Linked DNA regions of Homo sapiens: region 2 is linked to region 1. Evidence: promoter capture Hi-C in human tissues and cell types (Jung and others, 2019). All regions are on one chromosome and are shown on one strand. The core of a region is centred on a gene start or on the middle of the fragment in contact, and the rest is flanking DNA. Distances in the headings are between cores, read along the strand shown.

What was found. Contacts are between HindIII fragments. The study calls those that stand out against the background at their distance.
Region 2: a fragment that was not itself captured here is called in contact with the fragment with the promoter of STOML1 in region 1 in 1 of the 25 tissues and cell types used here (spleen).

What each region holds. Positions count from the first base shown.
Region 1 is chr15:73,988,551-73,995,471 of GRCh38, forward strand. STOML1 (stomatin like 1) reads right to left here and starts at 3,745. Exons shown (of 7, transcript NM_004809.5): 1 at 3,541-3,745; 2 at 1,801-1,907; 3 at 558-707; 4 at 49-252. The coding sequence starts at 3,673. It overlaps PML (PML nuclear body scaffold), which reads left to right and starts at 6,166. Exons shown (of 9, transcript NM_033238.3): 1 at 6,166-6,391. The coding sequence starts at 6,263. RefSeq lists enhancers at 1-612, 3,022-3,151, 3,212-3,281, 6,579-6,748 and a silencer at 3,412-3,971. The HindIII fragment of the contact is 7,353 bases long and covers 1,326-6,921 here.
Region 2 is chr15:75,439,591-75,446,511 of GRCh38, forward strand. The region is part of intron 1 of SIN3A (SIN3 transcription regulator family member A); the gene reads right to left. Among named protein-coding and RNA genes, the nearest start is that of SIN3A, 8.6 kb to the right of the region's middle. RefSeq lists a silencer at 1,413-1,562. The HindIII fragment of the contact is 9,103 bases long and covers 1-6,921 here.

The DNA of each region.
Region 1 (6,921 bases), core at 2,495-4,994:
CCAGGCCGGTGCCACCCCTCAAGCTCCGTCTTGTGAGGGGCTGCCTACCAGAAGCTGGTCGCTGATCTTGAGCTTCTCCATCTGGATCTCCCGCAGCGGCCTCTTGAGCAGGGCCTTGGTCATGGCGTTCTGGGCTGTCATGCGTGTGGCTGTGTTCAGGTCTTTCACAGTCATCACCGACAGCACCGGGTCCCAGATGCGAAACTGGACATCGGCTCCCACGGACAGCACAGCCCCGTCCTTAGAGGCCAGCTGTTGGGGGAGGCCATGAGAGAGAGACACTCAAGGGGCTGGGGGTGCAGGGAGGTCAGGCCCACTGGGGCCACCCAGCTTGAACCACCTGCTTGGCAGCTAGCTCCTCAAGGGCAAATGGTGTCACCAAGTATGTAGGGTTAGGTGTATGAAGCAAGGATGTCCTCCTAGCTTCCATCAATTTTCTGGTCTCTTCTTCCCCCTTCCCCCCTCAGATGGTGACTCACAGGCTGAGGTCCTGGCACCACAGTACATTCTGGACAGGCCCCCAGTTCCTCTGTCAAGGCAGCTGAGAAGCCCCTCACCTTGCAGGGAGGGACGTTGAAGGCTCGTGTCCTCAGATCCACCCTCTGAAAGGAGTCAATGAAGGGCAAGAGCAGAACCATGCCAGGTCCCTGGGGGGTGCGGATCCGGCCCAGGCGGAACACAATCATCCGCTCGTAGGTGGGCACAATCTGTCCACAATGGCAAGGGAAAGAGTTGAAAGTGGTCAGCCTAGGCTGGCCAATGCTGTCTGCCTAGGTCCCTTCCTCACTTCTCTCCTCCTCACCTGGGTCACAGTTAGGTATCCCTAGCACTGTTTCCAGATGAGAAAACCAAGGCTCAGGGAAGCTAAGTGACTGCTCAAAAATTGCATAGCCCTAAGTGAAATAGTGAAGATTTGAATGCAGTTCTGAATAACTCCAAAGGCCATGTGTCTTAACTACTGCACTGTATTGACTTGATCCTTAGAGAAACTTTTCATCTCTGTGGTCTGAAGTTAGACATGACTCATACCAGGAAACTGTCTGTCCTTGGATTAGTTAGGAGAAAAGGCTCGGCTGCCCTAACAGCACCCCCGGGGAAAGGGCTTTGTCAACTTTAGGTCCCTGGACCTCCTAGAGAAGTAGTGATGTCCAAATTGAGAAATGAAGGCCCAGAGAGGCAAAGAAACCTGTTCAAGGTCACATGGCATTTGTTTCTGTGGCAGTTTTAGAACTAGGATATAAGGCCATTTAAGGACCCCCTTGCAGACCACACCAAACCCAGAGGTTTTCTAGAGAGGGACTGTTGCCTAGGGCTACACAAAGGGCAAGGCCTCCTTGGGCTTCCACCTTCCCCCAGCTTTCACGTGCGATGCTGAACTATAGCTCCATGGTTCATCCTTTTCCCACTGTACCACCCCTTATGGAAAATGAGGCCTGAATTCCTATTATGCACTACCAGCTGGGCTAAGTTGGGTGTTTTCATTTCTAATTTATTCTAACCCAAAGAGAAGATAATTTGGCAAAGACATCTGCGTGTACCTTAAAGCCAGTGTCCAGATCCCAGGACTTAGGAGTTTGGGACTTGCTTCTACCCCCTACTGGCTCCCAGTATGACTTTAGACAAGCCCAAGCCTTAGTTTCCTCCCCTGACCAATGTGAATGAATGGTTCTTGCCTAGCCCATTACACAAAGGGGTAATAATATTTAGGGAAAGGGGACAGAGGATAGGCAAATTTATTCATCAATGCCAAAGCTCTCAGTGTGGCCCAACCACCCTGGGGGCTGACCCAGCCAGCCTTACCTTCAGGGCAAACCAGCCAGAAATGGGGAAGGTGACCAACAGCAGCAAGAACCCCAGGAAACTGATGAGGCCATGACAGAGGCAGGAGGGCCAGCTCTGGGGTACATCTGCAGGTGAGAGCAGAGGTGGTCAACTGGACCTGCACGACAGCTGCCAAGCGGAGTGAACTTGGGCAAGTGTACCTTACGCCCACCTTCCCCTCGAGAGGCTCCTTCCTTCTCAGGGCTCTCAATCTGGCTCCTTGCCTAATATTCCCGTATCTTTGGGCAGCTGCAAGTTAGGGTCTGTTCCCTCCTCCCATACATCAACACTCATTTGTCCCAAGTCCAACAACCCTCACAAGGCCTTATTCTCTGCTAGGCAACAGCCATTCAATCTCAGAATCCAGTCCGCGTGATGATGCTCTCCTCACTGGACTGAGTAGGGGTCAATCCTCTCGTTTAATTTATATTGCCTACCCATACCTGGCATGGAGCCAGGAGCACCTGGGCATCTGTAAACATGCACTGAATACTGCTGGCAAAACACATTCCTCCTATACCATCAGCCCCAGAAGTGTGCTTTCCAGGAGTCCTTATGAAGATGATGCCTTAGCCTACAGGGATAAATCATAAATAGCTTATCAACGGGAGCCACAGATGAGGAATTAGATTATTATTTTCTATTCCACACCCAACTTTAATGCCTTAATGACCATTAAAAAATGCCTATTTCACGAGATGGCGCCACTGCACTCCAGCCTGGGGGACAGAGCGAGACTCCATCTCAAAAAAACAACAAACAACAAAAAACAAAAACAAAAAAAAACCCTGCCTATTTCAATTCAAGAAAATTGTTAGGGGTCGGGGTCAGGGGCAGGGCTAGAAAGATGAGGCTTATCCAAGCCAAATGTCCTGGCCCCTGGAGATTCAGGAGCCCAAGTTGGGAGCAAAGCCGAGACAGCTCCAGAATCTGGGATGAGGTTATTTGCCGCTTTCCTCCCAACCCTGGACAGGAAGCAGTCGGGAGCCCTGCTCCATTCTTCCAGGAAGCCCTGCCCTCTGGGCTAAGCCCCAGAGCACTGAGGCTCCACTTTGTGCCTGGCTCTGATCCACCAGGCCTCTCAAGAGACTTCTGGATAGGGAGAGCTTTCAGGACAGGAAGGCCAGGGAGGGATCAAATCCAAGGTTAGGCGGTTAGGCTGAACAGCGTGGGATCTGGCCTGTAGGCCAAAGGAGCCACAGAAGACTTTGAGGGCAAGACAGAAGCAGGGCAGATCCAACAGGCAGCTGAGGACCTGTCATTTTGGCCTGCACATCCAGGAGATGCCTAGTTCCCGGGCTTCTAGAGGTGCCCCCTAGGGCGAAAATTCTTCCATTTCCCTGCAGCAGGTGCCTTTAGGGTGCTGGTGGCCTCCTCTGCCTAGACCTCGGTTTCTTCTATGCGAAATAGAAACCTGAAACGTCTTCCCAGGCCTAAAGGGCTGATAAGAGCCGAGGACAAATGTGGTGAGGTGAGGTTTTGGAAGATAGGAGCAACGCTGGCTGGCTCTGGGGCCAAAGCCCCATGACCCTAGGGAGGGCGGATCGGCGCTAGCACCAGGCGCCGGGTCCAGCCCCCTCTCCACATCGTATCCCTTTCTCAGTCCCCCCTCGTAGGGTGCGACGGCACCGGGCCGGCCGACTCCTCGGAGGCAGAGATTCGGGCCTGGGGGTTGCCGGCCGGTCCCCCCCGGCTCCGCCGTGCCAGGCGGCCACTCACCGGCCCCTGTCCCCACGCCGCCCCGCTCCGGGGACAAGCAGCCCTTCTGCGAGCCCAGAAAGCCGAAGCTCGACTGCTGGAAGCGGTCAAAATCACCCAGGGGCAGCGCCCGGTACCCAGACCTGCCGAGCATGGCTTTTGACAGGAGACACGCCCCGCGCCTCCGCGCGGCGCCCTCCCTGGCCAGTGGGCCCTACGCGGCCCCGCCCTCCTGGCTGCTGCTTCCGGCTTCACCCGCGCGGCCACCCGCGGCGGCGCGGGCGCAGGAAGAGGAGGCCGGCCGGGGCCCGCTTCCGCCGTCGCATGGCTCCCCCTGCGCTGGGAGGACCGAACTGCAGCCCAGGGCTACTGGGTGTGATCGGCGTTCCTCGGACCCCGCTGGGGTCATCGCCTCCTCCCCTCTTCTCCTACTCAGCCCTAGAAAAGCTGGAGGGGAAGCTGGGCACGGTGGCTCACTCCTATAATCCATCAATTTGGGAGACTCAGGCAGGAGGATCGCTTGAGGCCAGGAATTCAGGACCATCCTGAGCAACATAGTGAGAGCCCATCTCTACAAAAAATTTTTAAAAATTAGCCTGGCGTGGGATGCCTGCCTGTGGTCCCAGCCACTTGGGAGGCTGAGGCGGGAGGATCTCTTGAGTCCAGGAGTTTGAGGCTGCAGTGAGCTATGATCGTGCCACTGCACTGCAGTCGGAGCGAGAGAGCAAGATCTCATCAGGGTTTACAGGAAGCCAATCTTCTCCAGGATCAAGGACATGCTATATCAGCCTTCTCAGCACTCCTTCTCTCACACTGGAGGCAGGACATGCCATATCTGGACTTTGGGTTTCTCTGGGACATAGTCTGCAAATTATTCCTCTTTGTGAACCCACAGCCCAGCAAGCAGGGACTGGCATAGGGCAGGTCTCAATACTTATTTGTTAAGTAATGGCCTGGCCAGGTCACCGTGATCAAGGTGGAGTAGGAAGGCCTGAACTTTGGCACAAAAAGAAAGAAGTTTCACATGCAGACTTCGGGGAGCATGGGAGTGTAAGGAAGAAGGGGATAGCACAGAGCTACATGAGGGCAGGGGCCCCAGAGCACCACAGAGGTGAGGCCCTCAGTCCTGCAGGTCCAGAAAGAGCATGCCCCTTGATCCAGGTACCTGGAATTAACTTGCCTCTCCAGGGCTTGAGAAAACCTGAATGCAACTCGTGAATTTCCTTTGAGAAGTGTTAACTTCCAACAGGACTTTGGGGTAGTCTGGGAGCAGGCTATCTTCCAAAGCAAGCAAAGAAATGAATAAAGCTTCCCCAGCTCTGCCTCCTCAGCCAATCGCCTCTGGCCTCCGAAGCCCCATCCTGCCATAGCCCACTTCCAGGTCCCTTGTGCAGATGGCTGCCCACCATATTTGGCTTTCATGGACTGATTCTCTAAAGGCCTGGGAGTACTGACCAGGCTGGAGGGAAGGGCAGGCTCCTGAGGCCTTACAGTCCCTAGGAAGTTGCGTATCTGCCCAACCCCTGCTCTCCACCCTGCAGACTGTAAGGTTTACAAGAGCCAGGCCCTATCATCATCCTTTCTAGTCTGTTTCTAAGTTGGAACAGAGTACGGAATGGGTACACAGGAGCCAGCACAGTGGTTGCGATGGTTTAAGTTTGAAGCCGGGGCGCTGACCCAGTGAGGTCACCTGGAACTGTGCCCCTTTCCCCTTACCAGCTGGGAGTCTGACATGCTTTTCCATTGGCGAAGACCTAGCTGGCTCTCCCCTCACCCTCTTCATACCCGCTCTCCAGCTCTCCCCCTCCCTCCTGCCCCCACCACCTCAGATCCACCAGCCTTTCCAGCTGTCACTCAAGGCATCATCCTGCTCCCTCACCTCCAGTCACTGGCTTCCCAGGATCTCTGAATCAAGTCCCTCCTCTGCATCCCACAGCCACTGTCCTAGACCAGGGCACCTGCTCCTAGGTTGTCAGAGTGACTGTCCCATCATGCACAGCTGATCGTGTTGTTCCCTGGTTCCAAATCCTTCAGCAACTTCCCATCACTCACAGAACTGGTTCAATCTCCTCAGCTAGGATCTTGTCCTAGCACACTCCTTGGGTATCATTTCTCATGAATTCCCTCTTAAATCTGAAAATGGCCAAAATTAGTTCCCAAACAGGCTTTTGCAAGAGCTATCTTTTCTGTTTCAAGTGTCCCCCGTACCCCACCACCTACAACCCTAAATCCCTGGTGAATTTCCACTGCTTTTGCAGGTCCCAGCTGTGGGCTCTCCTTTCCAGAATGTCTCCGTTTGCAGGCTTGCTCTTCCATTACATCTACGGCTCTTAGAAAGCAGGGGCTGCGTGTGGCTCATCTTTGTACGCCCAGCTCCCGGCAGGACGTGGCACGAAGCAGTGCCAGTGTGAACGGATGAATGGATCAAAGCCGGGAGCAGGGCTGCCCCCCTGCAGCTCTGCCCTACCTCTCCCGCTTTACCGTAAGTCAGCGGTAGGTCTGCAGCTCTCCGCCTCTACCTCCTCCCCGCTCTGGGCGTGTCTTTAAAACCCACAGTCGGCCTCTCTGCCCCCTAGAACCGCCCCCAGCTTCTGTCTCACTTCCTCTCCAGAGGCGGGCCCTGAGCCGGCACCTCCCCTTTCGGACAGCTCAAGGGACTCAGCCAACTGGCTCACGCCTCCCCTTCAGCTTCTCTTCACGCACTCCAAGATCTAAACCGAGAATCGAAACTAAGCTGGGGTCCATGGAGCCTGCACCCGCCCGATCTCCGAGGCCCCAGCAGGACCCCGCCCGGCCCCAGGAGCCCACCATGCCTCCCCCCGAGACCCCCTCTGAAGGCCGCCAGCCCAGCCCCAGCCCCAGCCCTACAGAGGTACTATTGGGTTAGGGGATGATGGGGTTAAGCTTTGTTGGTTTGCTGTGGTGGGGAGAGGCGGGAAGAGAGGGTCTAACGGAGGATTTGGTCAAGTACCCTAGAGAGTGACACAAAGCGGGAAGTCCAGACACCAGGGTCCTGACCGTCTCGGGTGGGGCAGGGAAGGGAGGGTAGGATAGAGTAGAAAAGAGGACACGGAGGAGTTGGGGCGGCCTCGCTGGGCTGCGGTTTCTCCACTGAGCAGTTGGGCAAGGTGAGAAGGGTCAGTGGCCTCCGGGCCTGGGCCCTTCCGCCCACCCTCGAGCCCTGCCTCAACTTTGCCTCAGATGCAGGACTTCAGATTAGGGAGGATGGAGGTAGTACCCCTGTTGCGCTGGCCTGGAGCCAGGGGCATGTCCCAGGCACGGCAAAACTAAAACCAACTTCCCAGATCCGAGGTGAGAAACTGGCTCAGACTGAAGAGGTATCTTTGCCAAGGCCTCCCAGCTCATGTGGTTTCTGCTTAAGGAAGCCTCCCCAACGAACCC
Region 2 (6,921 bases), core at 1,980-4,479, 1.5 Mb after region 1:
CACCTCAGCCTCCCAAAGTGCTGGGATTACAGGCGTGAGCCACCGCACCCGGCCATCAATGCTTCTTTTACGGCATATGATACACCTTTAACCCGCATTATACCATTACGCATTGGCCAGACACTCTGACCTAAAGTTTTTTAGAACTCTTATCTTTTTTTACGCCTGGTCTCCTTTCGTCCCTCTCTTAGGCTTGATCTGTAAAACTCTTCTGACTCAAAATTTTAGAGCTTTTCTGATACCATAATGCTCATTAAATCTGTAAAAATTAAAAATAACGCCAAGTGTGGTGGCTCACGCCTGTAATCTCAGCACTTTGGGAGGCTGAGGCGGGCGGATCACCTGAGGTCAGGAGTTCAAGACCAGCCTGGTCAACATGGTGAAACCCCGTCTCTACTAAAAACACAAAAATTAGCTGGGCGTGGTAGCGGGCGCCTGTAATCCCAGCAACTTTGGAGGCTGAGGCAGGAGAATTGCTTGAACCTGGGAGGCGGAGGTTGCAGTGAGCCAAGATCACGCCAATGCACTCCAGCCTGGGCAACAGAGCGAGACTCCCTCTCAAAAATAAATAAATAAATAAATAACTTTAAAAAAACCCCATATCGTTATTACTTACTATTTTAACAAGAATGTAAGTAGCAAATTTGTTTTTTTTTTTGAGACACAGTCTTACTTTGTCACCCAGGCTGGAGTGCAGTGGTGCAATCTCAACTCACTGCAACCTCTGCCTCCCAGGTTCAAGCAATTCCTGTGCCTCAGCCTCCCAAAGCAGCTGGAATTACAGGTGTGTGCCACTACACCTGGCTAATTTTTGTATTTTTAGTAGAAAAGGGGTTTTGCCATGTTGGCCAGGCTGTTCTCAAACTCCTGACCTCAAGTGATCTGCCCGCTTCAGCCACCCAAAGTGCTGGGATTACAGGTGTGAGCCACCATGCCCAGCCTTAAGTAGCAAATCTAAATTTTTATTCCGTACTTTCCTGGACACTGGGAGATATAAATATCCAAAATGTGCAACATCCTTTAAAATGCAACCAAGTACTCATCAAATGTCATGCATGAACTTGGAACACAGCCATTCTATAAATTTTTTGTTTCTTTTAAGAAACAAGGGGTCGGGCGCGGTGGCTCATGCCTGTAATCCCAGCACTTTGGAAGGCCAAGGCAGGCGGATTACGAGGTCAGGAGATCGAGACCATCCTGGCTAACAAGGTGAAGCCCCGTCTTTACCAAAAATACAAAAAATTAGCCAGGCGTGGTGGCAGGCGCCTGTAGTCCCAGCTGCTCGGGAGGCTGAGGCAGGAGAATGGCGTGAACCTGGAAGGCAGAGCTTGCAGTGAGCTGAGATCGCGCCACTGCACTCCAGCCTGGGTGACAGAGCGAAGACTCTGTCTCAAAAAAAAAAAAAAAAAAAAGAACAAGAAAAAGAAACAGGGTTGGCCAGGTGCAGTGGCTCACGCCTGTAATCTCAGTACTTTGGGAGGCCAAGTCGGGTAGATCACGTGAGGTGAGGAGCTCAAGACCAGCCTAGCCAACATGGTGAAACCCCATCTCTACTAAAAATACAAAAAAATTAGCCGGGCATGGTGGCGTGTGCCTATAATCCCAGCTACTCAGGAAGCTGAGTCAGTAGAATTGCTTGAACTTGGGAGGTGGAGGTTGACCGAGATCTCGCCACTACACTCCAGCGTGGGCAACAGAGCCAGACTCCGTCTCAAAAAAACAAAAAACAAAATAAAAAAAAAACAGGGTCTTGCTCTATTGCCCAGGCTAGAGTACAGTGGCATGATCATAGCTCATTACAGACTGCTGGGCTCAAACAATCCTCCCACCTCAGCTTCCTAAGTAGCTGGGACTACAGAGTGGCTAATAAGAAAAAAATTTTTTTTAGAGACAGGGTCTCCCTACATTGCACAGGCCGGTCTTGAACTCCTGGCCACAAGCGATCCTCCTGCCTCAGCCTCCCGAGTAGCTGGTGTATACCACTACACTTGGCTTCCACTCTGTAAACAGGTACACACCACCACGCTTGGCTTCCATTTTGTAAATTTTGATTCCAGGTTTCAGGTACAGCTCTAGTAAGGTTCTAGCTTATCACCTCTGGGTCTTTTTTTCCCTTTCTGCCCATCAAATGAAATACTTTGAAAACTCACTTCATAATTTTGTTGGAGAGAACAGTCATCTTCTTTGCTCCATAATCATAAGCATTCTCATTTTTAGACTAATAAATGTCAATCAGAATGAACAATCCAGGCTGAGCGTGTGGCTCTTGCCTCTAATCCCAGCACTCTCAGAGGCCGAGGCGGGTGGATCACGAGGTCAGGAGATTGAGACCATCCTGGCTAAAACGGTGAAACCCCATCTGTACCAAAACTACAAAAAATTAGCTGGGTGCAGTGGCACGCACCCGTAGTCCCAGCTACTCGGGAGGCTGAGGCAGGAGAATCGCTTGAACCCAGGAGGCAGAGGTTGCAGTGAGCAAAGACCATGCCACTGCACTCCAGCCTGGGTAACAAGAGTGAGACTCTGTCTCAAAAAAAAAAAAAAAAAAAAAAAAAAAAAAAAACTGATTTTTTTTTTCATTTTTACATAATTTTTCCTTCTAACCATCTTTATACATATACGTAACTTTGGCACCTGTCCACTTACAAACTGCATCAACTAAGTTTTGGTGTACAAATATCTTGAAAGATGAAAGAATACTATCATACATCTTTTTGGCAAAGTGCAGTGGTTTTGATTGTTTTTTTTTTTCATTTCTTAAAAATAGAAATGGGGTCTCACTATGTTGCCCAGGCTGGTCTCGAACGTCTGGGCTCAAGCGATCCTCCCACCTCAGCCTCCCAAGAAGGTGGGATTGCAGGCATATGCCACTGCACCCAGCCCAGTTCTGATTCTTATAAAAAGAAAATCACATTCTAGCTGGATGCCTATAGTGCCAGTTACTTGGGGGAACTGAAGCAGGAGAACAGCTTGAGCTCAGGAATTTAAATCCAGCCTGGGCAACATAGTGAGATAGATCCCATCTTTAAAAAAAAAAAAAAAAAAAAAAAAATTCACCGCTGGGCATGGTGGCTCACGACTGTAATCCCAGCACTTTGGGAGGCCAAGGCAGGTGGATCACCTGAGGTTGGGAGTTCAAGACCAGCCTGACCAACATGGAGAAACCCCATCTTTTACTAAAAATACAAAAAATTAGCCAGGCATGGTGGTACATGCCTGTAATCCCAGCTACTTGGGAGGCTAAGGCAGGAGAATCCCTTGAACCCAGGAGGCGGAGGTTGCGGTGAGCCGAGATTGTGCCATGGCACTCTAGCCTGGGCAATAAGAGCAAAACTCTGTCTCAAAAAAAAAAAAAAAAAAAAAATCACATTCTAAACTCATCTAGGGTACAGTCACATATGTATATGGGTGGAGACAGAATCTTGCTATGTTGCCCAGCCTGGTTTTGAAGTACTGGGCTCAAGTGATCCTCCCATCTCAGCCTCCCGAGATGCTAGGATTACAGGTGCACGCCACCATGCCTGGCTGAAGACTCTTATTTTACAACTTGGTTTATATAACTTTACCGTCATCCTAACAGTCTAGAGTACTACTGTCACACAGCATTCATCTACTAGTTCCTCTGAAATGTCTTCTGTAGTCAGTTTTCTTCTCTTTGCCATTATAGGAGGAAGATGAAAAACTATGGATTTTTAAATATGTCCAATGAAAGCTTAAAAGTTGAAAAATAGTATAAAAATTACCATGTACTCCTTCACCTAGATTCTCCAAATGTTAACATCTTACATAATGTTTAAGATGGTATCTCCCAACTTCTTTTATACTTTCTTGAAAGATGCTGTAGGCTGGGCATGCTGGCTCATGCCTGGAATCCCAGCACTTTGGGAGGCTAAGGTGGGTGGATTGTTTGAGCCCAGGAGTTCGAGACTAGCCTAGACAACATGGCGAAACGTTCTCTCTACAAAAAAAATACAAAAATTAGCCAGGTGTGGTGGCACATGCCTGTAGTCCCAGCTACTTGGAGGGCTGAGGTGAGATTGCTTGAGTCTGGGAGGCGAAGGTTGCAGTGAACTGAGATTGCGCCACTGCACTCCAGCCTGGGTGACAGAGTGAGACCCTGTATCCAAAAAGAAAAAAAAAGTTGCTGTAAGTTTTGGGAAAAGCAATAAGAAAACTGAAGGGCTGCGGTGCACACCTATAGTCCCAGCTACCGAGGATGCTTAGGAGGGATGATCACTTGAGCCCAGAAGTTTGAGGCTGCAGAGAGCTATGATCATACCACTGCCCTTCGGCCTGGGCAACAAAGCGAGGCCCCATCTCTAAAAACTGAAGTGTAAAACTAATGATTTATTTCACTACTGCATATCCTTTTAAGCAATTCTATAATTCTCCCTTTGTCATATTATTTTAGTCCTCTTTAGCATATTTGAGAATTGATGAGTAATGATGAAATAATTCCTAGGATGATGAAATACCAAAACATTTCAATATACAGGAAAAATAAGATCAGTAAAACTCCACAACATTGTTTCGATGTACAAGTGGTAATAGCTAAAATGAGTTTATTCCTTTGGAAAAAAAATAAATTTTCAGGCTGGGCATGGTGACTCATGCCTGTAATCGCAGCACTTCGAGAGATAAGAAGTTTGAGGCCAGCCTGGCCAATATGGTGAAACCCCATTTCTACTAAAAATACAAAAATTAGCTGGGTATGGTGGTACACACCTGTAATCCCAGCTACTCGGGAGGTTGAGGCAGGAGAACCAGTTGAACCCAGGAGGCGGAGGTTGCAGTGAGCCAAGATCGCGCTACTGCACTCCAGCCTGGGGATGGAACAAGACCGCATCTCAAAAATAAAATTAAAAATAAAAATAAATTTTCTCTTTGCTGTTTTGAAGACCTCCAATAAATAAAAGTCATGAAATATACATCTTTACAAGTAGTTAGTACTGCTTTAAAAAAAAAAAGCAAAACTCAAAAACTAAAATTGAGTCCAGACCAGGTGCAGTGGCTCAGGCCTGTAATCCCAGCACTTTGGGAGGCCGAGGTGGGCAGACTGCTTGAGCCCAGGAGTTTGAGACCAATCTGGGCAATACAGACTTCGGTGACACTGATGTTACCCAGACATTTCTTACTACTGTAGGTAGAAAATGAACAGAAATTTAGTTAAATTCAAAATGTATTAATAATTGTTATCAATGTTGATTTTCTGATTTGATCACTGTATTGTGGTTTTAAAAGATGCACTTGGGGAATCTAGGTGAAGATTATAGGGCTATTATTTGTATTATTTTTGCAACTCTCTTTGAAGTCTAAAATTATTTCCAAAGAAAAAGTTTTTTAAAAATTAAGTATTAGGCCAGGCATGGTGGCTAACACCTGTAATCTCAGCACTTTGGGTGTCTGAGGCAGGTGGATTGCTTGAGTCCAGGAAGACCAGCCTGAGCAACATGGTAAGACCCTATCTCTATTTAATATAAGAAATATAATCTTTCAAAATATCTATAAGGCCAGGTGCAGTGGCTCATGCCTGTAATCCCAGCACTTCGGGAGGCCAAGGCAGGTGGATTGCCTGAGGCCAGGAGTTCAAGACAAGGCTGGTCAACGTGGTAAAACCCTGTCTCTACTAAAAATACAAAAAATTAGCCAGGCATGGTGGTGGCGCCTGTGATCCCAGCTACTCAGGAGGCTGAGACAGGAGAACTGCTTGAACCTGGGAAGGGGAGATTGCAGTGAGCTGAGATCGCGCTACTGTACTCCAGCCTGGGCGACAGAGCGAGACACTGTCTCAAAAAAAAAAAAAAAAAAAAAAAAATTAGCCAGGCATGGTGGTGGGTGCCTGTAATCCCAGCTACTCGGGAGGCTAAGGCAGAAGAATCACTTGAACCCAGGAGGTGGAGGTTGCAGTGAGCTGAGATTGTGCCAAGCCGAGATTGCACCACTGCACTCCAGCCTGGGAGACAGAGCAAAACTCCGTCTCAAAATAAATAAATAAATAAATAAATAGCTGGGTGTAGTGGCGCATGCCTGTAATCCCAGCTGCTCGGGAGGCTGAGGCAGGAGAATCACTTGAAGCTGGGTGTGTGTATGTGTGTGTGTGCAATGAGCCGAGATAGTACCACTGCACTCTAGCCTGGGCAACACAGTGAGACCTTGTCTCAAAAAAAAGAAAAAAAAAAAAAAAAAAGAAAGAAAGAAAAGAAAATAGAGCATTACAAAGAATAGAACTTGAGATAGTTCTTGAAAGGACAGGTGGAAGTGTCACTCACATCTCACACTGCTTTTATCACATTAGCTCTTCTGCTCCCACACAAACATGGGCACATAACATCTTTAACCATCTATGTATCCTCTACCATGCTCAGCATACTGCTTTGTCTTGTCTGTGGTGGAAACCAAATCATTCATTCATGTATACATTCTCTAATATCTACTGAGCACATACTATGCACCAGGTGTTTTAGGAGCTGGAGATACAACGGTAAACAAAAATCTCTTCCCTCAAGAAGCTTATATTTTAGTGAAAGATGACACAATAGACAAAGTATAATATTTAGAATAGTAGGCAGTGACAGGTATCAAGAACAAAAGGCAAGGAAGAGTTTTTGAAATTGTAGATAAGAATGGTCAGATAATACCTACTGATAAGGTAACTTCTGAGTAAAGGAAGTGAGGGAGCTAGTCATGCAGAAATTAGTGGAGGAAGCCTTCTAGGCAGAGGGGACAGCAACCGCAAAGACCCTCATGTCTTTGTGAGGGCTCACATGTGCTTGACATGTTCCAAAACAGCATGAAGGCTGGGTAGCTGAAGAAAAACGAAAGAAGGACTAGTCAGAAATGTAGTCAGAGAGGTACTAGGATAAGGGTGGCAGGCAGAGGGTACATCAGATTTGTTCTTACAGGTGTTTTTTTATTTTTTGA